6 separate regions of the Homo sapiens genome follow, and all the other regions are linked to region 1. Evidence: promoter capture Hi-C in 16 types of primary human blood cells and fetal thymus (Javierre and others, 2016). All regions are on one chromosome and are shown on one strand. The core of a region is centred on a gene start or on the middle of the fragment in contact, and the rest is flanking DNA. Distances in the headings are between cores, read along the strand shown. Region 1 holds the start of ZNF548 (zinc finger protein 548). Region 2 holds the start of ZNF256 (zinc finger protein 256). Region 3 holds the start of ZNF835 (zinc finger protein 835). Region 4 overlaps ZNF418 (zinc finger protein 418). Region 5 overlaps ZNF329 (zinc finger protein 329). Region 6 has its middle 6.5 kb from the start of ZSCAN18.

Region 1 (4,687 bases), core at 1,117-3,616:
TATTTGCAAACTATGCATCTGACAGGGTACTAATATCCAGAATTTACAAAGAACTCAACAACAAACAAACAAAACATAACAAAAAAACAACAACAAAAAATCTCATTAACAGTAAGCACAGGGCTGGGCGCGGTGGCTCACACCTGTAATCCCAGCACTTTGGGAGGCCGAGGCAGGTGGATCACCTGAGGTCAGGAGTTCAAGACCAGCCTGGCCAACATGGTGAAACCCCGTCTCTACTAAAAATACAAAAAATTAGCTGGGCGTGGTGGTGGGCACCTGTAATCCCAGCTACTTGGGAGGCTGAGGCAGCAGAATTGCTTGAACTAACCTGGGAGGTGGAGGTTGCAGTGAGCCGAGATCGCGCCACTGCACTCCAGCCTGGGCGACGGAGCGAGACTCCATTTCAAAAAAAAAAAAAAAAAAAAAACAGTAAGCACAGGGCAGACATTTTTCAAAAAGAAGACACATAAATCGCAAGCAGGCATATAAAAAAATGCTCAACATCATTAATCATCAGACAAATTCAAATTAAAACCACAGTATCTCCTTACACCAGTCAGAATGGCTATCATTTAAATGTCAAAAAACAACTGATGTTGCCCAGGATATGGAGAAGAGAAAAAGGTTACACACTGTTGGTGAGAATGTAAATAAGTACAACCTCAATGGAAAACAGTATGAAGATTTTTCAAATAACTGAAAATAGAACTGCCATTAAATCCACCAATTCCACTACTGGGCATCTACCCAAAGGAAAATAAATCATTACATTAAAAAAAACATGTATTTTTATCACAGCACTATTCACAATAGCAAAGATAGGGAATTAACCAATTATCCATCAATGTATGACTGGGTAAAGAAAATGTGGCATATATATACACAAGGTAATACCACTAGGCCACAAAAAAAAAAAAAAGCATGAAACTATGTCTTTTACAGCAATGTGGATGGAACTGGAGGCCATTATTAAATGAAACAACTCAGAAACAGAAAGTCAAATACCAAATGTTCTCACTTACAAGTGGAAGCTGAATAATGTGTACACATGGACAAAGAGTGTGGAATGACAAACATTGGAGACTCCAAACAGGTAGAAGGATGAGACGAAGATGAGTGATGAAAAATTACTTAATGGATACAATGTACATTATTCAGGCGATGGATACATTAAAAGCCCAGACTTGACCACTATGCAAATATATCCATATAACAAAACTGCACTTGACTCCTTAAATTTATGCAAACAAACAAACAAAAAAAACCCGAGACCGACCTACTCAATCTGATCCTCAGACCATTCTCTGGCCCAGTCCAAGCCCTCCATCCGTCTGGTATCGCCAACCCAATCCCCTTCCTCAGACTCCACACCTTTATGTCCACCTGTCTGTGTGACATATCCATCTTGAGACATTTGAGAATCACCATGTCCAAAATCCAACCTGTGATCTTCTCCCGGAAATCTGCTCTTTATGCTGACTTCCCCAACTCCATTCTTCCAAACGTTCAAACAGAAAACAAAAAACAAAACAAACACTTGAAACGGTTCTTCACTGCCTTTGTTCAGACATAACTGAAGCACCAGGAAAACCTACGGGCCCTATCTTTCAGGCCTATGAAGAATCTCATCACATCTCCCTCTACTGTCACTGGTCCAGCCCCAACCATAATTCTCCTGGGTCTACTGCAGTGGCCTCAGGGCCTTTTCGCGTCTCCCTGTGTCCATTCCTAACCTGGTTTTCCTAACTTGAAACTTCGAACTCTGGACCTGCCCCCTCCAACTGTCCCTCCCTTGACAACCTTCCATGGTTACTGGCTGCTCAGGTTGCCATTCCAAGCGAGAATTCACAAAACCCTCTCTTTCCCGCAGAAACAACACACACCCCTGACGCCCCAACACAGCCCACTCGGCAGCGCCTCCATGCTCTGAACCTGAGGTCCCTAACGGGAGCTCTGAGGCTGCATCAAATCGGCTGATACGGGGACCCCACACAGGAACGCCCCTCTCTTCGGGACAAGGGGCCTGACCTGCAGGGCCCCTTCAGGGGGCTTCAGCACTGGGAGGACCGGTCGGGCGGGGGAGCCTGGGACGGGACACCCACCTCAGTCAGGTTCATCAGCAAGGCCTCCGCCAGCCCAGCCAGGGAAGAGCGGGGCGGGAGCGACAAAGGCAAGACAAGGACGCCACTGTCCCCAGCGCTTGTCAGTTGACTCACTCCCGCCTCTCCGTGGTGGGAACCGAGCCGCTTCTCGCGCTTTTCCGTTCCGTCACTTCGGTGACGTCAGACAGAGCCATAGGCCGAAGTTGGTGAAACACCACACAGAACCAAAACGACCACCACCAGGAGGACGGCGGAAGTCCCGCCCTCCGACGGTGCGCACGCACGCAAACGTCCCCTTCTAAGCCTTTATTGGGTAAGTCGTGCCGCCGAGAGCTGCAGTGTCTTCTGGGTTATGAAGTTTCGACACCGCTTCCGGACTTGTCTTAGAGCGTTGATCAGTCCTTATATGGCAGATAAAGGCCCAGTGGCACTGTCAGGGGAGCTGGGAAACGGAGTCCCCGACTCCAAAGACAGGAGGGGGCTTGGCTTGCTCTTAAAGGCAACATACGGTATTTTTTTGGATTGTAGTATAGGATATTTACAGAAATGTTAGCAACTTATTACTTAAGACTCTATTAAGCACAGCTAATTCCCAATAACTACAGGTCCAAAGAGACACCCCATACCATAAAGGCAGTCTGCCTCTACTCATGCCTGCCAGCCATATTATTGCTTTTCAAATACACATACAGTTACGCTTTGGCGTCTGTTTAGTAAGCTTCAATATGTTTGGTCCAGAAGAAGAAAGAAAGACTACGCAGTTAGGGCTATGGACTGGAATTTGTAGGAAGGATGACAGGAGACGCTGAAGTAGGTTGAAAGGGTGAAGCTATGCCTCTGGATCAAAGAGAATACATCTTACCTGACTGTAGAGTCAGCGATTGTGTTCCTACGAAGGGTGCAACGCTTTTATTCTAATAATACTTACTACTTCATATCTGAGATATTTTCCATTTATTTTAAGAATCACAATCCTATCTGAAAATGAGAGTGACGACCAAAATGAGTGATTGAGGCATAAGTCACAAATCATGGAGGATTACTGGACCAGCCTAAGGGCACATCCAGAAAAATGTAAGTCACAGAAGCATCTGTGGCTGGTTTTTCCAAAGAGGTTCTTAGGAGGTTTAGTATTTATTATACATTTTCCTTAAAAAGGAAGAGGGGTTGGCAGTGAGACAAATGATTACAGACATGTGAAACTTTAGTTAGTGCCCAGTAAATCTACATTTTACATAAGATAGAGTAAACACGTGAGGGGAAAAGGGAATAAAGAAGATGTCTCAGAGAAGGATGAAGGAATGAATAATCTCATCTTCTCTCTGTTCTGTACCTTGGAAGATAAGCTAGTAGTCTTCTGAAAAGGTTGATTTCTATTTAGCCCTTAGGGAAGAAAACCTAATGATTGTAGTGTGGTAGGGGATATAATGAGGTGTGTCTGATTTCCCGTTCCTCTATAGTGGTGAATTCAGCTTCCAAAGTTATTCTAGGGTTCTCATGGTCAAGAGGGCATCCATTCAGTCAGTTAGGGGGTGCTTAGAATTTTATTTTTATTTCTCAAGAGCAGCTGATACATGCCATTTCTGGACAACATTGTCTACCGTTTTCATAGTTGAAGCATATGCACATCTTATCCTCAAAAAAGGTGTGGAATTCCATGATGTTATCTTCTTCCTCAGAAGTGATTTAAAATTTCACCTGTGTTTACAACTGTATTTGCACAGGGAGTCGAAATGTGAAAAACACTTGTGAAATAAAAAAATTACCGAAATCTATTAGTAATTATGTAGGTTATTCCAAAAGAAAAAAAACCAGAAGCCCTAGAGAAATCGATCTGTAATGTGAGAAAAAGATAAGATCTCAATGTTTGAGTGAGAGACAGCAAATTCTGAGAAGTCAGAGAATGAAGTTGAACCTGTGGCTCTGCTGGACACTTGGACACACTATGCTTTTGTTTCCAAAATGTAATTTTTTTACACACTTGAAAACATTGCTCATTAACTGCTTAGAGGGGTAAGTACAGATGATAAACTGAAAGACTTGCCACAGATAAAAATGAATAGAGAAGCTGTGTGATAATGTGTATTTACTTCTCTAGTAAATGTTCAATGAGCACATATGTATTGGGTTTCAGATCAATGATAGGTGCATGGGACACACTGGGAATAGGTTTCCCAGCTGCTATGTGTATACAGGACTGTTCTATGTTTTCTTAGATTCTGTATTTGTCTGTTTGATATTCATTAATCACAGGGTCAAACTAATAGAACCAAAGTTGTTTACTTTTTTTCTTGCAAGCCACTTACTCAAGTGCATGAAACTCATATAAAACCCCCCAACCACAAACACTAAAATGTGTTTTTCCTTCCTGCCCATCGACGGTATCTCTACCTCATCATTCTCTGCCACTTTAGTTATAAAGACATACTTCCAGTTACTCTGTTTTCTCTTTCTGCTTTCCAGTCTCTGTATGTAATAAGGTTTCTTGTGGCCTGTGTGGTGTTCAGTGCCTCTTATTTCCAGGGAACTGTAACATTAATCTTTTCTTTTGATGGCAGTGTCCCCTCTGTGTCATTGCTAAT
Region 2 (4,723 bases), core at 720-3,219, 560 kb before region 1:
TCTGCTGTTCTTGGTGTCTCCGAGCTTTCCGGCGCCACCATTTTTCCCTCGTCTAGATGCTGGTGCCTGCAGCAGAAGCCGCCTGCAGTATGTCTGGTCCAGTCGCAGACTTGCAAGGAGCCGGCGCCTGTGCCAGCGCCTGGAGCTGCCCGCCCCGCCGCAGCAGCCAGCGTGCCTGGCTGTGTGCACTGGCTGGACCCTTCACTTGCTCGCTCACACACCCCTTGCGGCTCCGCGCCTGGCTCGCCCTTGGTAGGTGTGGGATCCAGGTGCAGCCTGCTGGGCCGAGTGGGTGGAACAAGCCCAGCGGGTGTGAGCAAAACTCAAGCAGAGGCGCGACCACAGAGGTTTCTGGCTGGCGAAGCGACACCCATTATTAGTAGCTTTCTGTAATTTGTATTTTACAATTCTTTTTCTGATATCGTATCAATTTTTTATGCAGAACAGCCCTATAATAATGGGGGCAAAGGGCCGGGCACAGTGGCTCACGCCTGTAATCCCAGCACTTTGGGAGGCCGAGGTGGGTGGATCACCTGAGGTCAGGAGTTCGAGACCAGCCTGGCCAATATGGCGAAACTCCGTCTCTACTAAAAATACAAATACAAAAAAAAAAAAAAAAAAAAAAGATTAGCCGGGTACGGTGGCGGGCGCCTGTAATTCCAGCTACTTGGGAAGCTGAGGCAGGAGAATCGCTTGAACCCGGGAGACAGAGGTTGTGGTGAGCCGAGATCGCACCATTGCACTCCAGCCTGGGCAACAAGAGCGTAACTAATGGGGGCAAAGATAATCATTTCAGCGTTGAGAAGAGATCTTGAATTTAAGATACACCCTACATTTGGGATTCAGAGCACCCTTTGTTCCACCTGTTAATGCTCTAGCTAGCCATCATGCCTTTTCAAAATACCATTCCTTTTGTTGTTCTCTTTCTGAGCTTGATGTCAAATTATTAAAAAGAAGTGAATATAAAGGCATGGAGAAAGTGAGATTAGATTCATGCAAGTGTTGCTTAGTGAATTGGACACAATGTTTGACTACACAGGCACGAGAGGGACCCAGAGACAGGGATCTACTTATGTCCTGCTGCTGCAGGGTGCCTCCGCATCCCACCTTCATCCTCTTTGTCATGAACCTGTGTGGAGTGTTTTTTTTCTTGTCCCTAATCAAACATACAGAGACTGAGAAAACTGACTCCAGTGCTTGAGTGCATGCGTTTGAATTGCAACATAGTCTTTTTTTTTTTTTTTTTTTTTTTTTTTTTTTGAGACAGTGGCTCGCTCTTTCCCCCAGGCTGGAGTGCAGTGGCGCGATCTCGGCTCACTGCAAGCTCTGCCTCCCGGGTTCAAGCTATTTTCCTGCCTCAGCCTCCGGAGTAGCTGGGGACTACAGGCGCCCGCCACCACACCCAGCTAATTTTTCTTTTTTTTTTTTTTTTTGTGGTATTTTTTGTATTTTAGAGACGGGGTTTCGCTGAGTTAGCCAGGATGGTCTCGATCTCCTGACCTCGTGATCCGCCCGCCTCGACCTCCCAAAGTGCTGGAATTACAGGCGTGAGCCACCGCGCCCGGCCGCAACATAGTCATATTTATTTGCTTTCTCAACCAGTGGATATATTTTGTGACTGACTGACTGTATGTAATAATATGTGCATCTGGATATGTGCCTCTGGGAACACATGAAATGACACGTCTCCAAACAAACACTGGCAGACAGCAATCGGTAGAAACCTGGGTACGTCTCCTTTAAGAAAGAACGAAGCCTCGCCTCCGCCCCAACCTGGAGTGTCCATTTCCCAGCGCCCCCTACAGGGGTTTGGCCTTTACTTCCGGAAGGAGGTGGAGGCGACCCTCACTCTCCCGCCGTGCGCCTGTGGGAACATTACCCAGAATGGCCTGCGTTGGGCGACGGCGACCTTCAGCCAATGAGGCCTCCGAAAGGTGGTGTTTCCGTAAGCGCACGCGCGGTCGCGGCGGGACTTCCGTTGTCCTCCTTGTGGCGGTCGTTTTGGCATTTGTCTGGACTGATTACTTGGTAGAAAGCCCCGGAGCGCTGGGTCAGCATCATCCGTGACTGACTGAGAAGGCGCGAGAGGAGTCTTCCCCGCTGCACAGAGGCGTGGCTGAGGCTCGGCGGCGCCCAGGGTACCCAGGCCCGGCCCGGAATAAGGACATCCTCTCTGGCCCCGCTCCGCTCACAGAGTCAGATGGCGGCGGCCGAGCTGACGGCCCCGGCCCAGGTATGTGCCGCGTCCTCTGGGCCTTCCCCGCCCTCCCCACGCTAGTCCTAGCACCCCCGAGGGCGCTTGCTCGCGGCCCTGCTGCCCAGGACAGGACACGGGGGCTCGCCGGAGGGGCTCCCGTTTCCAACACCTGGTGTGCTAGGGAAGGGAGGGCGCGACTGGCAAGGAGCCCCTGATGAGAGGCGCCACTGAGCCCTGGGGCACAGAGGTGACACAGCCATTGCGAGGGCACCCGGCTCCAAGGCCAGGCATGGGGCTACGGGGTGGCTTGAGCCCATCTAATACCGCCATAGATGCTCTTCTCTGAGGCCTGGCTCTTTCTACGTTTCCCTTGGCTGTAAAGGGTTATGAAATCTACGCCAGGAAGGGGAGGGTTTCCCAGTCTCTCACTAGCCCTAACTCCCACCCACAGGTTCTCTGGGTTGTGGAGTGCCATTCCCCCAGCCCTTAGTTCTGAAGACCTTGGGTGAACCCCAAGCCCAGGGTCCTATGTCCATGTTAGCCGGTATATAGAGTTGTTCCAATTTCTGGCAGCCATGTGAACGGGTGTGGAAAGTTTTTCCAGAAAGGTACAAGATGTGCAAATGCTTAGGTGCAGTACGGAGCTGGGTGCATTTATGAAGCCACAAGTCTCCTTGCTTTCTGGTGGGAAGCAAAGAACAGGAGGATAGGCGTCAGGACTGCAGTGGCTGCCTGAGAAGTTGAGTGTGTTTTCAGGAGGTAATAGCAAGTTTGAATCAGAAAAAAGAGGTAATTTACCAAGGTCTTCACAGGCTTCATCTGTGTGCACAGTGGGGCACAAACTGGGGGGTTGAGGGAGGAGGAAGGAAAATCAGGGTAGACTAGTCCAAGTGAGGGTTACTGGCCCAGGATCGTGATTTAGGAGATGTGGTTAGATTCCGGATGTGTGGTTTCAAAAGGGACAACTAAATTACATAATGTAGGTGGTGAGGGAGTGAAACAGAGGGTTCAGAGAAGACTCCAGGGTTTTTGGTATTAGCAGCTGTAGGGAAAGAAGTTTCATCAACTAAGATGAACAAATTGGCAATAGGAGTAATATTCACTAGGGATATCAGGTTTGTTTATGCCATGCTAAGAGTCAGATCTTTCAGAGCCTACTAAATGGAGGCGTTAAGTGGGCAGATGAACGTGCCGGTCTTGAAATCTAGGGAGTGGTTCAGGGTGCAGATATTCAAGATGTGGCTGTTGTGCGCACCAAGGTTAGTGAGCTGTGGGTCACAGTTAGGCGGGGCAAGCTCCAGGTTTTGGTTGTAAAGCTGTTAGTGGGCCAAGACTGGGAGGATGATGATAGAGTAAGTGGTCATGAAGGCAAGGTATGTAAAAGACAGTGTAGTTTGGCAGTGGCCACGGCTCCCAAGAGAAGAATGGACATGAGATGGATGCAAACGCATAGGACACTCAGGCCAAAACTCGTGCTTATTCACCACTTTATGGGTATCCAGGATTTTGTGATAACTTGATGGGGCCTGGGTGTTTCATTCAGGCTGGAAGATTAAGTTAGTGTCATGTGGTCATTTGTGAGAGTCATTGTGTGTGAGATGAACGACCAGTGAGGCTGGGATTTAAATGAGCTTTAGGTGGATATATGACTCTCAAGGGGATGGTAAGTGCAGCACAGAAGTGGAATAGGGCCATGGTTATCTGTGATTCACCTGTGGTTCTGTGTGGCTATGTCTGAGGCAAGGAATACAGCCTGGCAGGGAGGCCTTCAAAGAAATTTTTGAGGCTGCTTCCACTAGTGTAAGCTGTGGGAAGTCTGGGATTTTGGATCCTGTTTATATCCACACTCTGGATGCTGCCTGCCAAGTTGCGGTATAAGGCCGGAAATTAAGGCCCAGTATGATATGTCGCCTTGACATCTGATGAAAACGATACAGCCTTAGATGGCCTGAGAACAAATTCCCCTTCCCACTTTGCTCCCATGAATAAGCTCTCTTAGCCAAATGAACCCTTCTTATCCATTCTTATCCAGGGAACCAGAACAGTTCCTGCTTATTACTTTGTAGTGGGTTTCAGTTCCCTATCAATTTTTTGAGTTATTCAAACAAGCCAGTCCCCTCCTCTGGGGACCAGTGGAGCTTCTCCATCTTGATGCTACAAAACTTACATTCTACAGCACCTGGTTGTTACTCTTTTCTGGAGTACTACCTCCGTATGGCCCTGTGTGGAGTGTGGTATTCTTTCACAGGCTATGAGTATTTGTCTTTAATTAATAAGCTGTTCAGCCAGGCGTGGTGGCTCACGCCTGTAATCCCAGCACTTTGGGAGGCCGAGGCGGGCAGCTCACAAGGTCAGGAGATCAAGACCATCCTGGCTAACACGGTGAAACCCCTTCTCTACTAAAAATATAAAAAATTAGCCAGGCGTGATGGCGGGTGCCTGTAGTCCCAGCTACTTGGGAGGCTAAGGTAGGAGAATGGCATGAACCCAGGAGGTGGAGCTTGCCCCACTGCACTCCAGCCTGGG
Region 3 (4,581 bases), core at 736-3,235, 720 kb after region 1:
ACCCCACCCACTCCATCCTACCCAGGGACCCCAAGTAGGCAACTGCTATGGCAGTGGGTCCAGCCCAGGCCGGCACTGCCAGCCTCCTCTCCCTGCAGTAGGCACCAGCTCTACCTCCCCCGGCAGGCAATGTCCTGGCTTCTCAGCCCAGCACCATCTGTTCCCCTAGACTTCTCAGGGGCCAGCCCAGTCTGGGCCACCCTTTCCCTCATCCTCGGCTCCCACACAGGTGACAGGCCCAGCAGATAGCTTCTCTCTGGGAAAGGTTGGATGCTGCCTTACATCCCCTTCTATCCCTCCTCCCATCCACACACACAGGCACCCACCCACACCAGGTCTGCTTGTTTCTCACATGTAGGGAGAGGGGGGGAGACCAACCCCTTTGTGTCTTTTGAAATACGAAGAAAAATGTGTGTTCAGGAGCATGACTCCAGTGCTGGGCTCTTGGGCCCAGTTCAGTCTGTCTTGTCTCAAATCTAGGCACTTTTGCTTCAATTTTATTTTTTTTAAGAAAACAAAAACAGAAATCTGCACTAATTTACCTGGTTCTTAGGAAAACTTTTTTTTATTTTTTACATTTTTTGGTGTCCGTTTGTATTGAATAATTTGCTACATTTGTAAAATGTAAGAGGTATATATAATATATGTATATTTCTAACGTAAAAACAATTTTTTTCTTTTCAAGATTTTTTCTTAAAAAGATGAGAGAAACATATTTTTTCAGGAAAAACAAACTTTAAAAAAAAAAGAGGAGAAATAAAACCTTTTCTCCCCTTTCCCCATCCTCTATCTATCCCTGTTTCCCAGGAACAAATCAAAAGGTGGATTATCTTCTGAAGAATGGAAACTGTTAGTCCAGAATGATGTCTTTTTCTCAATGCAGTGAGTTATAGATTCTCTAGTTTTCTCCCTAGGGATGGGAAGGGGGCATTGACGCAAGCCTGGAGAGGAGCCCGGGGAGCAGGGTCATGAAGTTTTTTCTTCAGTGAAGGAGGAATACAATCAAGGGTTTTGTATTCAGAATGTTGTGCAATATTTTGGAATAGGACATTGGTGTGTTTAGAGATTTTAGTTTAAAAACAAAACAAAAAGATTGATCAAATCTGTACAGTTTCTATTGTTCCAGATTTTTTAAAGTTTGTATTAAAAGCATGATACATAATAAAAATAAATAAATAAATAAAACTAAAAAGTAAAATGAAATTCTTCATCTATGTTAATGGATTTGCCACCTTCTTTGCCATAGACTGGAATGACATCAGCTACCTGAGACCAAAATAAAAGTGTGGGTTGCAAACCCTGGCACCTACCTTTTTAGATTCCGCAGCCTGCAGTAGGGACTTAGCCTGTCTGAACCTCAGCTTCCTTCTTTCTTCTTCTTTTTTTTTGAGACGAAGTCTCGCTCTGTCACCCAGGCTGGAGTGCAGTGGTGCGATCTCAGCTCACTGCAACCCTCGCCTCCCAGGTTCAAGCCATTCTCCCGCCTCAGCCTTCCAAGTAGCTGGAAGTGCATGCCACCATGCTCGGCTAATTTTTGTATTTTTAGTAGAGACGGGGGTTTCGCCATATTGGCCAGGCTGGTCTCGAACTCCTGACCTCAGGTGATCCACCCGCCTCGGCCTCCCTAAGCGCTGGGATGACAGGTGCCCGGACTCAAGTTCCTTCTTTCTAAGCCTGTGGGCTCGGCCTCATCCCCTGAGCAAGAAAAAAGTCCCACCCCTGAGTTACTGGAAGCGCCCACCGCCATGCACTGAGGCTGTAGTGGGCGGGGCTCGGGGCAGCAGCCCGGCGCTCCTCGGGCCCCCAGGGGTCAGCGCCCTGCGGACCTAGCGTGTGCAGACGCTTAGCCTTCTGGGAGTTGTAGTTTCGATGACCCAGGCTTTGCAAGCTTTAGTCGCGGTGCCGGCGAGCGCGCAGCGCCCCCTGGGAGTCGTAGTTCCTAAGAACCAGGCGGGCCCGATGCGCAGGCGCAGTCCACCCCGGCCTGGTGCGCGGGCTCCTCCGCAGCAGCAGAAGTCTTGACCTTAGCTCGTCTAAGGAAGGAGGCACCAGGGTCTGCGTTGGCCCAGGAGGACCCGAGACTGAGTAGAAGCGGAGCCGACTGCACCAGGCTAGGAGGGGGCCGGCCAGCGCGTTCGAAGGTGATACCGGGAGGCGAGAGCAACGGTGTGTAGTGTGCGCGTGTTCCTGCAGGTGTGTGACCGCGTGTGAGCCCGTCCCCGAGTGCCATTGTGTCTGCACCTGTTCACTTAGCGGTGTCAGCCCGTATAGGTGTGTGACTGCCTGTGAGCCCGTCCCTGAGTAACACAGCGTCTGCACCTGGTCACTCGACGGTACCAGCAGGTGCAGGTGTGTGACTGCCTGTGAGCCTGTCACTGCATCTGCACCTGCTTACTCGGCGGTGCCAGCCCGTCACTGTGTCTGTACCTGCTCACTTGGCGGTGCCAGGCCGTGCAGGTGTGTGACTGGCTGTGAGCCTGTCCCTGAGTGTCACAGCGTCTGCACCTGCTCACTCGACGGTACCAGCAGGTGCAGGTGTGTGACTGCCTGTGAGCCCGTCCCTGAGTGTCACAGCGTCTGCCCCTGCTCACTTGGCGGTGCCAGCCCATCACTGTGTCTGTACCTGCTCACTCGGCGGTGCCAGGCCTTGCAGGTGTGTGACTGCCTGTGAGCCCGTCCCCGAGTGTCACTGTGTCTGCACCTGCTCACTCAGTGGTGCCAGCCCAGGCAGGTGACTGCAGGTAAAGGCATGTAACACTTTATCGGTGTGTTATGTGCTCGTTCATGTGAAGCGGTGTCTGCATATCACAGCATGTCACATACACGTGTGGCTGCCTTTGGGCAAGTCTGAAAGTTCTCCTGGATGTGAGGTGTGTGACCCCACGTGTGCATGTCTGGGTGTGCCGCCGTGTAGGCTGGCTCGGCCCGTGTGCCTGCCAGCACAATGATGGGTGACCTGGCTGTGCGAGCCTGTAGAGTGCCGTGCTGTCTGAAGTGTGTGCATCTGCACATGATGGAGACGCTGCACATGTGGGCTTTGGCTATGCTGGAGCTCTATCCACCGAGTGTGACTGCACATGTGTCCAGCCATCCCCTGTGGGTGTGTCCCAGTAATGGCCGGCCTGTGTGGAGCAGGTGGCATGTGTGACCTTGTGCGTCTCTGTGCACCTCTTCACACAGGGAGCTACGTGTGGGGCTGGGTGTGTGTGTAGCTACGTGTGCCCGGGACCCTGTGTGCATGTGTGAGTGTGGCTGCAGGTGATGGCTTCCCACCTGCCTCCTTGCATGGGGGTTAGGAGGGCGACTGTGTGTCCCTGGATATGGGTTTGGGTGTCTCTGCATGTCTGTGTGTGTCTGGGCAGGTATGATTGTGTATGACCCTGTGTGTGTCAGAGTGTGATGTAATGCATGTGTCTTCCTGTGATCTTGTGATATAATAAGAAATATATGTTTAATCTTTATCCCCAGCTCCTGGTACCAGAGCCCCTAAAACCCTTGGAATTTCCTGAGTGACAGGGGTAGAAGGAGTGTCTTCTGCAACTCTTAATAAGCCCCCTGCAACCACACCTGTGTTTATGCTAATGGAGGACTCCTGATAGGCCCCCAAGTACATTTATGCTAATGGAGGACTCCTGATAGGCCCCCAAGTACATTTATGCTAATGGAGGACTCCTGATAGGCCCCCAAGTACATTTATGCTAATGGAGGACTCCTGGTAGGCCCCCAAGTACATTTATGCTAATGGAGGACTCCTGATAGGCCCCCAAGTACATTTATGCTAATGGAGGACTCCTGATAGGCCCCCAAGTACATTTATGCTAATGGAGGACTCCTGATAGGCCCCCAAGTACATTTATGCTAATGGAGGACTCCTGGTAGGCCCCCAAGTACATTTATGCTAATGGAGGACTCCTGATAGGCCCCCAAGTACATTTATGCTAATGGAGGACTCCTGATAGGCCCCCAAGTACATTTATGCTAATGGAGGACTCCTGGTAGACCCCCAAGTACATTTATGCTAATGGAGGACTCCTGATAGGCCCCCAAGTACATTTATGCTAATGGAGGACTCCTGATAGGCCCCCAAGTACATTTATGCTAATGGAGGACTCCTGGTAGGCCCCCAAGTACATTTATGCTAATGGAGGACTCCTGATAGGCCCCCAAGTACATTTATGCTAATGGAGGACTCCTGGTAGACCCCCAAGTACATTTATGCTAATGGAGGACTCCTGATAGGCCCCTAGGATGGGCTGGTTGCCACGGGAGCTAGCCCTGATGAGCATTCCAGCCTTCAGCCAGCCCCTACCTCCTGGGAGGGGAGAGGGCTGGAAGTTGAGTTCATCACCGATGGCCAGTGTCATCACACCTATGTCAGTCACGCCCGTGTCATGGAACCCCCATAACCACCCTAAACTTAGGGTTTGCCGAGCTCTGGGGCTGTCGAGCACCCAGAGAGGGCATGGTGCTCTGAGCTCCTCCTTATACCTTACCCTGTGTGTCTTCCATCTGGCTGTTCCTGAGTTGTATCCTTTATTGGAAACCAGTAACCGTAAATAAAGCATGTCCCTGAGTTCAATG
Region 4 (4,928 bases), core at 947-3,446, 530 kb before region 1:
ATAGTGCCTGGCCCTTTTTTTTTTTTTTTTTTTGAGACAGTGTCACTCTGTTGCCCAGGCTGGAGTACAGTGACACAATCACAATTCACTGCAGCCTTGACCTGCTGGACTCAAGTCATCCTCCCACCTCAGCCTCCCAAGTTGCTAGGGACAGGCATGTGCCACCACGCACAGCTAATTTTTAAAATTTTTCTGTAGAGATTAGGTCTCACTATGTTGCCCAGGCTGCTCTCAAAACTCCTGAGCTCAAGGGATCTTCCCACCTTGGCCTCTCAAAATGCTAAGATTACAGGATGAGCCACTGTGCCTGGCATGCTTTTGGTTTTTTTCTTGCAATTTAACAAAGTGGTGTCCCATATATTTAAGTATCAAATGTATAACTGAATTTTCTTTCTTTTCAGGGATCTCAAGGGCATTTCCCTTTGCCCACCTCACCTTTTCATATTTGGTAAACTGTATGCATTTGCCTCCAGCCCAAGATTATAAATATGAACTGATTATGATCTGCATGTTCTCTCTTTGGGTTCAAGCATTTCCTTACAGAAGAGCCACCGTGGAAGTCATGGGTAAATATGTGTTGAATTGGTAACTCCCTCTTGGAGAATTTCTTGTGAATTACACAGCAATAGGGGAACTCATTTAACTGGAGACATAATCTCAATTTGTAAAGTGTGGCCCATTTTCTAACATTTTTATTTTGCATACCCTCCCCTCTCTTCTCGATTGATGAAACTAACAAAGAGGTTAATAAAAGCCCATCTCGTCATGTACAGGGACTCATGCCTTTAATTCCAGTGTTTTGGGAGACTAAGGCAAGAACATCCTGGAGGCCAGGAGTTCGACACTGTATAACAGATATATCTGACAGCAGTAACTCAAGCACACCCTAAGAATGACCCTGTGGTCTAAGAAGAGTGTTGGTTCAGCGTTCCAAACGAAGAAATCCAGGAGTGGCCAACCTGGAGGTTTCTGAACCCCTGGCCTGTTCCTTGGAATGAGGCCCTTTGTTTTGAGCTAGGCGGAGGGTGATAAGTGAAAATACTATATAAACTGCATGCTTCTTTCAAATGATAGTGGTTTTTTTGTCCAGCCTGCCGCTCCTGGACTGCCCTGTATCTAAGTCCTCAATAAACCCTATGTCTCATTTTCTTTCTTTCTTTCTTTTTTGAGATGGAGTTTCGCTCCTGTTGCCCAGGCTGGAGTGCAGTGGCGTGATCTCGGCTCACTGCAACCTCCACCTCCCGGTTCAAGCGATTCTCCTGCCTCAGCCTCCCAAGTAGCAGGGATTACAGGCATGTGCCACTACACCCGGCTAATTTTGTATTTTTAGTAGAGACGGGGTTTCTGCGTTTTGATCACGGTGGTCTCGAACTCCCAACCTCAGGTGATCCGCCTGCCTTGGCCTCCCAAAGTGCTGGGATTACAGGCGTGAGCCACACGCCTAGCTCTATGTCTCATTTTCTAGCTCTGGCTCTCATTCAGTTCTTGGACATGGTGCCATCCTTGTTGAAGTCAACAGGGTAGGGATCAAGCATGATAGAGACCAGCCGGGCAACACAGCACAACCCTGTCTCTACCAAAACAGCTGGGCATGGTGGCAAATGCCTATAGTCCTAGCTGTGTGGGAGACTGAGGTGGGAGGATCATTTGAGCCCAGGGATTTGAGGTTACAGTGGGCCATGATTGCCCCATTGCACTCTATCCTAGACAGCAGAGTAAGACCCTGTCTCTCACCTGGCGAAATTAACAGAAGCTTTTCATATTACTTTGCTGAAAGCTCTTAAATTGGTTTTGCTTAACCTATAAACAACTCCTTTCAGAAAACAAGTATTCCGTTGTGAGAAAATTACCTATCATGCCATGAGGTTGGATGGAGGATTGTATGAACCAACTTAATTCAAAAGGGATCGACCAAGCATGGTGGCTAACGCCTGTAATCCCAGCATTTGGTAGGCCGAGGCAGGTGGATCGCCTGAGGTCAGGAGTTCGATACCAGCCTTGCCAACATGGTGAAACCTCGTCTCTTCTAAAAATCCAAAAATTTGCTGGGCGTGGTGGTGGATGTCTGTAATCCCATCTACTCTGGAGGCTGAGGCATCTTTTTATGTATTTATTTATTTTTTTGAGACATAGTCTCACTCTGTCACCCAGGCTGGAGTGCAGTGGTGCAACCTCTGCTCACTGCAACCTCTGACTCCTGGGTTCAAGTGATTCTCTTGCCTCAACCTCCCAAGTAGCTGGGATTACAGGTGTGCGCCACCATAACCATACCCAGCTAATTTTTGTATTTTTAGTAGAGACAGGGTTTCACCATGTTGGCCAGGCTGGTCTTGAACTCCTGACCTCAGGCGAGCCACCCGCCTCAGCCCCCCAAAGTGCTAGAATTACAGGCATGAGCCACCACACCCGGTAGGAGAATCGCTTGAACCCGGGAGGCGGAGGTTGCAGTGAGCTGAGATCGCACCACTGCACTCCAGCCTGGGTGACAGAGTGAGACTCTGCCTCAAAAAAAAAAAAAAGAAGAAGAAGAATCTCATTTTAAAGCCAAAACCATCAGACTGACCATTCCAATTATGTGCTGAGCATAATTTAATCTCTTGGACATTGGTGCTAACATTTCTCTGAGGTCCTAAGCTTTTTCACCATCTACTGATGTTTCCATAGACCCACTTCTGTCAAAACTGTTTAATAATTACCTAGTCAATGTTTTCTTGTTTTTTGCTTTTTATATTTTTGGGGGAGCGGGAGAGAGACGGAGTCTCGCTCTGTCGCCCAGGCTGTAGTGCAATTGCACGATCTAGGCTCACTACAACCTCTGCCTCCCGGGTTCAAGCAGTTCTTCTGTCTCAGCCTCCCAAGTAGCTGGGACTACAGGCACTTGCTACCACGCCTGGCTAATTTTTTTTTTGAGATGCCTAGGCTGGAGTGCAGTGGCGTGATCTCCGCTCACTCCAAGCTCCGTCTCCTGGATTCACGCGTTTCTCTTGCCTCAGCCTCCCCTGTAGCTGGGACTACAGGCACCTGCCACCAGGCCTGGCTAATTTTTTGTATTTTTAGTAGAGACGGGGTTTCACCGTCTTAGCCAGGATGGTCTCGATCTCCTGACCTTGTGATCTGCCCACCTCGGCCTCCCAAAGTGCTGGGATTACAGGCGTGAGCCACCACGCCCAGCCTACCTAGTCAGTATTAATAGGCTTTTGTATCTTGCAATTTACAACTGTTTCTCTTATGTAATATTAATTTTTCATGCAGAACACTCCCTCCTCTCAAATCAATGATAATCACTTCCCATCAATGACATGAACTCATGGCTTTTACAAATGCCCAGTATGAACAGATGGAGAGCACCAACTTTAAGTACTGTTTGAAATGCTTGTTCTTTAGTGCCGTAAAGAAATAGCACTTGACTTGGCCGGGCGCGGTGGCTCATGCCTATAATCCCAGCACTTTGGGAGGCCGAGGTGGGAGGATCACCTGAGGTCGGGAGTTCAAGACCAGCCTGACCAAGATGGAGAGACCCCATCTCTACTAAAAATACAAAATTAGCTGGGCATGGTGGCGCATGCCTATAATCCTAACTACTCAGGAGGCTGAGGCAGGAGAATCACTTGAACCTGGGAGACGGAGGTTGTGGTGAGCCAAGATCGCGCCATTGCTCTCCAGCCTGGGCAACAAGAGCGAAACTCCGTCTCAAAAAAAAAAAAAGAAAGAAAGAAATAGCATTGAACATAAATTTAATTTCCTCAGCAAGGCCATTTTTACTTTCTGCAGAAACGGTATACTCGCCAGCAGTTTTGCTGTGAGATTACACTGAACAAAGGAGACAGGGTCATTTATAACCTGCCTGACGCATCCACCTTACTGCTGTGTCCGGTTTCCACTGGCTAAATACAAATTCACATTCTGTATTTGTCCTGATTGACTAGCAACTTAGAACATTTTTAAAAGAGGCAAAGGCAAGAGGAAAACGAAGGAGGAATTAACTTATGGAATGCTAAGAAAGGCAAAAACACCTTCAAATAAGAGGAACAGGCTATGACAATGCTTGCTTGGACCAGTGTAAACATGCCAGGGCAAATATTTAGGCTAAATTGTGGGAGCTAAGAACATAAAGTACATGGATTTTTTTAATTACGGCTAGAAGATATTTAAGAATGTTAGCACAGGTCTTTGAATAAATTTTGCTTCTAAGAGAAGTTACTATTTATTCCTAATTAGATGGGAGGAAAGTCTTTGAAGAGGAACCTGTACTTTACTTTTTACAGACTGTAGCCATCACTACTACCAAGATACCATTTATTTTATTGTTTTTTGTTTCTTTGTTTGAGAGAGTCTCGCTCTGTCGCCAGGCTGCAGTGCAATGGCGCGATCTCAGCTCACAGCAACCTCTGCCTCCCGGGTTCAAGTGATTCTCCTGCCTTAGCCTCCCGAGTAGCTGGGACTACAGGCGTGTGCCACCACACCCGGCTAATTTTTTTTTTGTATTTTTAGTAGAGACGGGGTTTCACCATGTTAGCCAGGATGGTCTCGATCTCCTGAACTGGTGATCCGCCTGCCTCGGCCTCCCAAAGTGCGAGGATTACAGGCGTGAGCCACCGTGCCCAGCCTTATTGTTCTTTATAAGACTGATGTCAAATTACTAAAAGGAGTTGAATGTAAGTTAGAATATCAAGTAAAGGATACTAAGTGGGAAAAAGTGTTGTTCAATTAATTGAACGCTATAATGATTTGTGAACCCCCCAAATTTGAGACAGGTCTCAGTTAATTTAAATAGTTTATTTTGCTGGCCAGGTGTGGTGACTCATGCCTGTAACCCCAACACATTGGAGGGTGAGGCAGGCAGATCACGAGGGAGATCGAGACCATCCTAAACAAGGTGAAACCCCCGTCTGTACTGAAACTACAAAAATTGGCGTGATGCCACGTGC
Region 5 (4,813 bases), core at 225-2,724, 740 kb before region 1:
CAGGTGATCCACCCACCTCAGCCTCCCAAACTGCTGGAATTATAGGCGTGAGCCACCGCGCCTGCCCCCAGTTTATGTTTTCACAGCTGCCACTAAGGTACCCTGCCAAGCACGCTGACCACTTTCCAAGCCCTCTTCCCTTGTGACCTACCAAAGCTTTATATTATTGTACTTCATTTTATTTTTACTCACGTGAAATGTGTATATTTTGTGTTCTTAAAGTCGCAGTTTGGAATTGCCTGAATGATAGAATGAGAAAATAAATATTGATGTTTTCAGGACATTTCTTTTTTTTCTTTCTTTTTTTTTTTTTTTTGAGGCAGAGTCTCGCCCTGTTGCCCAGGCTGGAGTGCAGTGGCGCTATCGCGGCTCACTGCAAGCTCTGCCTCCCGGGTTCATGCCATTCTCCTGCCTCAGCCTCCCAAGTAGCTGGGACTACAGGCGCCCGCCACCACGCCTGGCTAATTTTTTGTATTTTTAATAGAGACGGGGTTTCACCGTGTCAGCCAGGATGGTCTCGATCTCCTGACCTTGTGGTCCACCTGCCTCAGCCTCCCAAAGTGCTGGGATTACAGGCGTGACCCACTGCTCCCAGCCAATGTTTTCAGGACATTTCTATTTTCCCTTCACGAAGTGCTCTTTGATTACTTTGCCCATTTTTTTTCTTTTTATGTGCTGTTCTGTAAGAATCCTCTGTAGTTCTTGGGCAGTAATTCTTTGTGCTTTTAAATCTTATTTTCTCTCTGTAAGAATCCTCTATAGCTCTTGGGCAATAATTCTTTGTGCTTTTAAGTCCTATTTTCTCCCTATCTGCCACTTGCATTTTGTCTCTTATTGTGTCTTTTATTGGATGGAAAATTTGAATGCTGATATCAGACTTCTTAATCCTTGTCTGTTTTTTATTTTTTGGTTTTTGTTTTTTGTTTTTAAGACATGGTCTCTTTTGCCCAATCTGGAATGCAGTGGCACAATTACAGCTCACTGCAGCCTCAGCCTTCTGTGTGGGCTCAAGTGATAACTCCCACTTCAGCCTCCCAGAGTGCTGGGATTACAGGCATGACCCCCAATGCTTGGCCATATGGTTTTTTGGTTAAGTTTTGTTGATCAAAGTCTGCCACACTTATGAAGGCATACTACATTATTTAAACTTTGACTTTATGTTGCAGCCTGTATCCTTCTGAAATGTAAATACACGCGCACACACACACACACACACACATATACACATATACATGTATATATATTTAAATTGCCTAGAATGTAGACATATATGTATGTATGTATTCTGAGGCAAGGGTCTATTTTCATTTTACCTTAAAAAATAGAAAGAAGGCTGGGCACAATGGCTCATCCCTGTATTTGCAGCATTTTGGGAGGCTGAGGTGGGATAATTGCTTGAAGTTTTTGAGATTGAGGCTTCAGTGAACCAAGATCACACCACTGCACTTCAGCCTGAATGACAGAGCGAGACCCGATCCCACCAAATGAATGAACGAATGAATGGACAACCAGTTGTCTTAATATTGTGAAGTCTGAATGGACAAGGATGGTGACAGGAAGATTGATATGCATGAAGACACATGCAACCATTTACAGAATGCCCTTCATCCCCTAGCCTTGGAGACTGCTTTGTACATGATCCAGTTTTTTTTTTTTTTTTTTTTTGAGACGGAGTCTTGCTCTGTGGCCCAGGCTGGAGTGCAGTGGCACGATCTTGGCTCACTGCAAGCTCCGCCTCCCGGGTTCGCGCCATTCTCCTGCCTCAGCCTCCCGAGTAGCTGGGACTACAGGCGCCCGCCACCACGCCTGGCTAATTGTTTGTATTTTTTTAGTAGAGACGGGGTTTCACCACGTTAGCCAGGATGGTCTCAATCTCCTGACCTTGTGATCTGCCCACCTCGGCCTCCCAAAGTGCTGGGATTACAGGCGTGACCACCGCGCCTGGCCGACATGATCCAGTTTTTATAACAACCATGCAGGGCAGTCTTTGACAGTTTTTGTTTTGTTTTGTTTTTTGAGATGGAGTCTCACTCTGCCGCGTAGGCTGGAGTGCAGTGGTGTGATCTCAGCTCACTGCAACCTCTGCCTACCAGGTTGAAGTGATTCTCCTGCCTCAGCCTCCAGAGTAGCTGGGACTACAGGCATGTGCCACCACGCCTGGCTGATTTTTTTTGTATTTTTAGTAGAGACGGTGTTTCACCATGTTGGTCAGGCTGGTCTTGAACTCCTGACTTCAAATGATCCACCTGCCTCCACTTCCCAAAGTGCTGGGATTACAGGAGTGAACCACTGTGCCCCGCCAGGTCATTGACAGTTCTAAGACTTAGACCCAGAACTTTTAGGTCACCAAGCCTGTGCTTTGTCCTATCCATGAATGCAGAACTTTGATGACAGAGCTGGGGTGAGAACTGTTCCTTCAGTGCTGTTGTAAGCTCATTGTGAAGTCAGAGCTTTGGAAATGTGTACTGATGGGCAGTGTGTGACAGGGACAAGAATGCAGTGGCTGGGATGGAATTCTAGGGGGAGCAGGGATGCTTGGCCTCTGGTCTCTCACATCTCAAACTAATCCTTTTGGTGATGATTTATCCCGAGGTCCATTCCTCCTGCCTGCTCTCTAGGAAGATGAAAATGCTACATGGCTCTTTTTGAATCTGTTCTTGGTTCCATTCCTTGGCTACGATTTTACCTCTTCCTTGTATAAATTTGAATTTAAAAGAGAAAACAAGTAAAAAAATACACATCTTTACACCTAGCCCATCATCATTGTCTGTTTCTCTTACAGATAAAGCTTCATATACCTAAGTCTGCATTTTTCTTCTTTTTGCAGTTTGGGATATGAGATTGAAAATGACGACTCGGAATTTTCCTGAGAGAGAAGTACCCTGTGATGTAGAAGTGGAAAGATTCACAAGGGAAGTTCCCTGCTTGTCCAGTTTAGGTGATGGTTGGGACTGTGAGAACCAGGAGGGACACTTGAGGCAATCAGCTTTAACTCTGGAGAAACCAGGGACTCAGGAAGCAATTTGTGAATATCCTGGTTTTGGGGAGCATTTGATTGCAAGCTCAGACCTTCCACCGTCTCAGAGAGTTCTGGCAACAAATGGTTTCCATGCACCTGACTCAAATGTTAGTGGTCTGGATTGTGACCCCGCCTTACCCAGCTATCCTAAAAGTTATGCAGATAAGAGAACTGGTGACAGTGATGCCTGTGGAAAAGGCTTCAACCATTCCATGGAAGTTATTCATGGAAGAAATCCAGTGAGAGAGAAGCCCTACAAATACCCTGAAAGTGTTAAGTCTTTTAATCATTTTACCTCTCTTGGTCATCAGAAAATAATGAAAAGAGGCAAGAAATCGTATGAAGGTAAGAATTTTGAGAACATCTTTACTCTGAGCTCATCGCTTAATGAAAACCAGAGAAATCTCCCTGGAGAGAAACAATATAGATGTACTGAATGTGGCAAATGCTTCAAACGGAACTCTTCTCTTGTTTTGCATCACCGAACTCACACCGGAGAGAAGCCTTATACTTGTAATGAGTGTGGAAAGTCCTTCTCCAAGAACTACAACCTGATTGTGCATCAAAGAATCCACACAGGAGAGAAGCCCTATGAATGCAGTAAATGTGGGAAAGCTTTCAGTGATGGCTCAGCTCTGACACAGCACCAGAGAATTCACACAGGCGAGAAACCTTATGAATGCCTAGAGTGTGGAAAAACCTTCAACCGAAATTCATCCTTAATTTTGCACCAAAGAACTCATACAGGGGAAAAACCATATAGATGTAACGAATGTGGGAAACCCTTCACTGACATCTCCCACCTTACAGTGCATCTCAGAATCCACACCGGTGAGAAGCCCTATGAGTGTAGCAAATGTGGAAAGGCTTTCCGGGACGGCTCGTACCTCACCCAGCATGAGAGGACTCACACTGGAGAAAAGCCCTTTGAGTGTGCAGAGTGCGGGAAATCCTTCAACAGAAACTCTCACCTCATTGTGCATCAAAAGATCCATTCTGGGGAGAAACCCTATGAATGTAAAGAATGTGGCAAGACTTTCATCGAGAGTGCGTACCTCATCAGGCATCAGAGGATTCATACTGGCGAGAAGCCCTATGGCTGCAACCAGTGTCAGAAACTTTTCAGGAATATCGCTGGCCTCATTAGGCACCAGAGGACTCATACTGGTGAGAAGCCCTATGAGTGTAATCAGTGTGGCAAAGCCTTCAGGGACAGCTCCTGTCTGACCAAGCACCAGAGAATTCACACTAAGGAGACCCCATATCAGTGTCCAGAATGTGGGAAGTCCTTCAAGCAGAACTCTCACCTGGCAGTACATCAGAGACTCCATAGCAGGGAGGGTCCCAGCCGGTGTCCTCAGTGTGGAAAAATGTTCCAAAAGAGCTCATCCCTTGTTCGACATCAAAGAGCACACCTGGGAGAGCAACCCATGGAAACATAATGGTTGGGGGCCACATGAGTCTTCCAGTTCACTCTCACTCCTGTGTTTAGGAGGCGTGTCTTAGATCTGACTCCTCTCTGGTCAGTAGAAAAGAATCCTTTAAGCTATCCAGTGAATTGATGAATGTGAGACATTGCTGAGCCACACTGTTAAGTCTGCTCATTGGGGAACTCCAGAGACAACTTAGGATGAGGGCAGAAAAGTCTTTGGGGATGATTCAGTCTGTACCAGACATGACAACACACACACTGGAATGAAATGTGCAAACATGGGGGTGACACCACAGAGAGAACCTGTGAATGCATTCAGAACATGATTGGAATGAAGAGCCCTGTAGTAGGGAGTTTCCACC
Region 6 (4,678 bases), core at 1,951-4,450, 710 kb before region 1:
TGGCCAGGCACGGTGGCTCACGCCTGTAATCCCAGCACTTTGGGAGGCCAAGGTGGGCAGATCACGAGGTCAGGATTTCGAGACAAGCCTGACCAACATGCTGAAACCTCATCTCTACTAAAAATACAAAAAAAAATTAGCCAGGCGTGATGGTGCACACCTGTAATCCCAGCTACTCAGGAGACTGAGGCAGGAGAATTGCCTGAAGCTGGGAGGCAGAGGTTGCAGTGAGCAGAGATCGAGCCACTGCACTGCAGCCTGGGAAACAGAAGGAGGCTCCATTTCAAAAAAAAACAAAAAAACAAAAAAAACAGATGTCTTTTTTTCTTTCTTTCTTTTTTTTTTTTTTTTTTTTTTTTTGAGACGGAGTCTCGCTCTGTCGCCCAGGCTGGAGTGCAGTGGCGGGATCTCGGCTCACTGCAAGCTCCGCCTCCCGGGTTCACGCCATTCTCCTGCCTCAGCCTCCCAAGTAGCTGGGACTACAGGCGCCCGCCACTACGCCCGGCTAATTTTTTTTGTATTTTTAGTAGAGACGGGGTTTCACCGTTTTAGCCGGGATGGTCTCGATCTCCTGACCTCGTGATCCGCCCGCCTCGGCCTCCCAAAGTGCTGGGATTACAGGCGTGAGCCACCGCGCCCAGCCAGATGTCTTTTTTTCTTTTGAGACATGGTCTCATTCTGTTGCCCAGGTTGGAGTGCAGTGCTGCAACCATGGCTCGCTGCAGCCTCGACCTCTAGGCTCAAGTTGTCCTCTCACCTTAGCCTCCTACATAGCTGGAACTACCAGCATGCACCACCACGCCTGGCTAATTTTTTTTATGTTTTGTAGAGACGGCATCTCACCATATTGCTCAAGCTGGTCTTGAACTCCTGTGCCGAAGTGATCCTCTTGCCTCATCCTGACAAAGTGCTAGTATTACAGGTGTGAGCCATTGTGCCTGGCCTAGAATGCTCTTAATGGCATCTAGCATAGTGAATCATTTCCAGAAGGTTTTTAATTTACTTTCCCTGGATCCATCCAAGGAATCATTACTATCTATGGCAGCTATAGCCTTACAAAATACATACCTTTTTTTTTCTTTTTTGATAAGGATTCTCACTCTGTTGCCTCGGCTAGAGTGCAGTGGCGCGATCTCAGCTCACTGCAGCCTCTGCCACCTGGGTTCAGGCGATCCTGATGCCTCAGCCTCTTGAGTAGCTGGGACTACAGGCATGTACCACTATGGCCGGCTAATTTTTTATTTTTAGTAGAGATAGGGTTTCACCATGTTGGCCAGGCTAGTCTTAAACTCCTAAGCTCAAGTAATCCACCTGCTTCAACCTCCCAAAGTGCTGGGAATACAGGCATGAGCCACCACGCATAGCTGCAAACTGCATTCTTCTTTTTTATTTTTTATTTTTTTGAGACGGAGTCTCACTCTGTTGCCCAGGCTGGAGTGCAGTGGTGCGATCTCTGCTCACTGCAAGCTCTGCCTTCCGGGTTCATGCCATTCTCCTGCCTCAGCCTCCCGAGTAGCTGGGACTACAGGCACCCGCCACCACGCCCGGCTAATTTTTTGTATTTTTAGTAGAGACTGGGTTTCACTGTGTTAGCCAGGATGGTCTCGATCTCCTGACCTCGTGATCCACCTGTCTCAGCCTCCCAAAGTGCTGGGATTACAGGCCACTGCGCCTGGGCCAGCTAAACTGCATTCTTAAATAAGAAGACTGGAAAGGCAAAATTATTACTCCTTGGTCCATGGGCTGCAGAATACACGTTGTGTTGGCAGTTGCGAGAACAACATTAATTTCCTTCTATGTCTTCATCAGAGCTCTTGTCAGTGAGCAGCCATAATTTGAATCTTTTTTTCTCAGGAGGAAGTCTCTCAACAGTGGGTTTAAAATATTCAGTACACCATACTGTAAACACGTACTGTCATCCAGGCTTTGTTTACATTTATAGACAGCACTCAGAGTAGATTTAACTTAAATCTTAAGGCCCTAGGGTTTTCAGAATGGTAAATGAGCTTTGGTTTCAACTTAAAGTCACCAGTTGCATTAGCCCTTAACAAGAGTCGGCCTGTTCTTTAAAGCTTTGAAGCTAGGCACTGACTTCTTTCTAGTTGTGAAAACACTACCTGGCATTTCTTCCAACAGAAGGCTGTTTTCTTTACATTTAAACTGTTGTCTACTGTAGCGACCTTCCTCAGTGATCTTAGCTAAATCTGGAGAACTTGCTGCAGCTTCTGCATTAGCACTTGCTGCTTCACCTTGCACTTTTATGTTACGGAGATGACTTAAACTTCATGAACCAACCTCTGCTAGCTTCAGACTTTTTTATTTTATTTTATTTTATTTTATTTTATTTTATTTTATTTTATTGAGATGGAGTCTCACTCTTTTGCCTAGGCTAGTGTGCAGTGGCATGATCTCGGCTCACTGCCAACCTCTGCCACCTGGGTTCAAGCAATTCTCATGCCTCAGCCTCTTGAGTAGCAGGGATTACAGGCACTTGCCACCATGCCTGGCTAATTTTTTTTGTATTTTTAGCAGAGATGGGGTTTCGCCACGTTGACCAAGCTGTTCTCAAACTCCTGACCTCAGGTGATCTGCCCATCTCTGCCTCCCAAAGTGCTGGTATTACAGGCATGAGCCACCACACCCGGCCCAGACTTTTTTTTTGTTTTGTTTTGTTTTGTTTTGTTTTTGAGACAGCCTCACTCTGTTGCCCAGGCTGGAGTGCAGTGGCACGATCTCAGCTCACTGCAACCTTCGCCTCCCAGGTTCAAGCAATTCTCCTGCCTCAGACTCCTGAGTAGCTGGGACTACAGGCGCACGCCACCATGCCCAGCTAATTTTTGTATTTTTAGTAGAGGTGGGGTTTCACCATGTTGGCTAAGCTGGTCTTGAACTGCTGACCTCAGGTGATCCATCCCGCTTGGCCTCCCAAAGTGTTGGGATTACAGGCATGAGCCACTGTGCCTGGCCGGCTCAGAATTTTCTTCTGCATCTTCCTCGCCTCTCACAGCCTTCATAGAAATGAAGAGAGTCAGGACCTTGCTCTGGATTAGGCTTTGGCTTAAGAGAATGTTAGTTCTCTTTGGGTAGTTTGATCTCCTATCCAGACCATTAAAGCTTTCTCCCTATTGGCGACAAGGCTGTTTCAGTTTCTTGTCATTCACATATTCACTGGAGTCACACTTTTCATTTCCCTCAAGTTTTTCTCTTGGCCATCACAATTTGGCTGTTTGGCACAAGAGGGCTAAGTTTTGGCCTGTCTTTGACACGCCTTCCTTACTAAGCTTAATCATTTCTAGCTTTTGATTTGAAGTTAGAGGTCTGACTCTGCCTTTCACTTGAACACTTAGTGGCCATTGTAGGGTTATTAACTGGCCTAAGTTCAATATTGTTTTGTCTCAGGGAATAGGGAGGCCTGAGGAAAGAGATTGAGAGAGAGTGCGTACCAGCGAGCAATGGCAGGTTGGTGGAGGAATCAGGACACACAACATTTATCTGCTGAGTTCATTGTCTTATATAGGCGTGGTTCCTTTCACTCCAGAACAATTACAATAGTTACAACAAAAATTACTGATCACAGATCACCATAACAGATAATAATAATGCAATAGTTTGAAGTATTGTGAGAATTACCAAAATGTGACACAGAGACACAGAGAGCATATGCTGTTTGATAAATGGTGACAATAGACTTAATTGACACAGGTTGCCACAAACCTTCAACTTGTAAAAAATGCAATATCTGCATAGGATAATTAAGCAAAGTGCAAGAAAACAAGGTAATGCCTATATCTGGAAGTTAGTCGTGACACAGAACCTAAAGACTTACCGTATTTCCTTTATTCTGTGATACATATCTTGCCATATTTTAACATCTGAAAACAAACCAGGTTAATCAGTGATATGGTTTAATTGGCAGCCTTTTTTTATTTTTTTATTTTTTTTTAGAGAGAGTCTCGCTGTGTCACCCAGGCTGGAGTACAGTGGTGCTATCTTGGCTCACTGTAGCCTCCACCTGCCAGGTTCAAGCGATTCTGCTGCCTCGGCCTCCCAAGTAGCTGAGATTAGAGGTGCACACCACCACACCCAGCTAATTTCTGTATTGTAGTAGAGACGAGGTTTTGCCAGGCTGGTCTTGAACTCCTGACCTCAGGTGGTCCACCCACCTCGGCCTCCCAAAGTGCTGAGATTACAGGTGTGAGGCACTGTGCTAGGCCTCAGGCAGCCTTTTATTAGCACATAAAATGTACATGTTACCATCTGTTATCTTGGAATCAATGAAATAAGAGTAATATCAGAAGGAGGAATTGAATGACTAGTGAGAGTCCATTTGAGGAGAAATACAACTCTCAAGGAAAAAATCTTGTTGCTGAGATGACAATTAACATTGACATATCCGATGCAGTACAAAATGGCAAGTCTGTGTGCCATTGTAGTCCTTCCTACCTTGCTGAATAATCATTGTTACCTGCCTTCTTTCTTATAGCCTGTGTCAGCCATAATTGTTATTTTATTGCAAGATTTTTAAAGTTCATAATGTGGGGGGAAGCCAAACAGCACAGAAGAGTATATGGTTTGTTTGTTTGTTTGTTTGTTTGTTTGTTTTGAGATGGAGTCTTGCTCTGTCGCCCAGGCTGGAGTGCAGTTGCGTGATCTTGGCTCTCTGCAAGCTCTGCCTCCC

What was found. The method cuts DNA at HindIII sites, captures the fragments that hold promoters and counts their contacts. A CHiCAGO score of 5 or more calls a contact.
Region 2: a contact is called between the fragment with the promoter of ZNF256 here and the fragment with the promoter of ZNF548 in region 1, in 3 of 17 cell types (total B cells, total CD8 T cells and naive CD8 T cells). The highest score is 5.5, in total B cells.
Region 3: a contact is called between the fragment with the promoter of ZNF835 here and the fragment with the promoter of ZNF548 in region 1, in 7 of 17 cell types (non-activated CD4 T cells, naive CD8 T cells, total CD8 T cells and 4 more). The highest score is 7.4, in non-activated CD4 T cells.
Region 4: a contact is called between a fragment that was not itself captured here and the fragment with the promoter of ZNF548 in region 1, in 1 of 17 cell types (naive CD4 T cells). The highest score is 5.6, in naive CD4 T cells.
Region 5: a fragment that was not itself captured here is called in contact with the fragment with the promoter of ZNF548 in region 1 in 3 of 17 cell types (naive CD8 T cells, total CD4 T cells and neutrophils); the score reaches 8.2 in naive CD8 T cells.
Region 6: a fragment that was not itself captured here is called in contact with the fragment with the promoter of ZNF548 in region 1 in 2 of 17 cell types (total CD4 T cells and non-activated CD4 T cells); the score reaches 6.0 in total CD4 T cells.

Annotation. Positions count from the first base shown.
Region 1 is chr19:57,387,533-57,392,219 of GRCh38, reverse strand. It overlaps ZNF548 (zinc finger protein 548), which reads right to left and starts at 2,366. Exons shown (of 4, transcript NM_001172773.2): 1 at 2,106-2,366. The coding sequence starts at 2,120. RefSeq lists enhancers at 2,109-2,588, 2,729-2,808. The HindIII fragment of the contact is 17,908 bases long and covers 1-2,825 here.
Region 2 is chr19:57,944,952-57,949,674 of GRCh38, reverse strand. It overlaps ZNF256 (zinc finger protein 256), which reads left to right and starts at 1,969. Exons shown (of 3, transcript NM_005773.3): 1 at 1,969-2,233. The coding sequence starts at 2,201. RefSeq lists enhancers at 1,731-1,820, 1,891-1,990, 2,481-2,560. The HindIII fragment of the contact is 12,388 bases long and covers 1-4,723 here.
Region 3 is chr19:56,669,161-56,673,741 of GRCh38, reverse strand. ZNF835 (zinc finger protein 835) reads left to right here and starts at 1,985. Exons shown (of 2, transcript NM_001005850.3): 1 at 1,985-2,166. LOC105372473 (a long non-coding RNA gene) reads right to left here and starts at 1,763. Exons shown (of 4, transcript XR_936110.4): 1 at 1,311-1,763. The HindIII fragment of the contact is 4,177 bases long and covers 1,891-4,581 here.
Region 4 is chr19:57,918,103-57,923,030 of GRCh38, reverse strand. It overlaps ZNF418 (zinc finger protein 418), which reads left to right. Exons shown (of 6, transcript NM_133460.3): 6 at 402-1,149. Among named protein-coding and RNA genes, the nearest start is that of ZNF417, 4.0 kb to the right of the region's middle. The HindIII fragment of the contact is 881 bases long and covers 1,756-2,636 here.
Region 5 is chr19:58,127,526-58,132,338 of GRCh38, reverse strand. It overlaps ZNF329 (zinc finger protein 329), which reads left to right. Exons shown (of 4, transcript NM_024620.4): 4 at 2,828-4,813. The coding sequence starts at 2,836. The coding sequence ends at 4,461. Among named protein-coding and RNA genes, the nearest start is that of ZNF329, 21 kb to the left of the region's middle. The HindIII fragment of the contact is 2,632 bases long and covers 159-2,790 here.
Region 6 is chr19:58,102,386-58,107,063 of GRCh38, reverse strand. It overlaps a transcript of ZSCAN18 not described here. Among named protein-coding and RNA genes, the nearest start is that of ZSCAN18, 6.5 kb to the right of the region's middle. The HindIII fragment of the contact is 167 bases long and covers 3,117-3,283 here.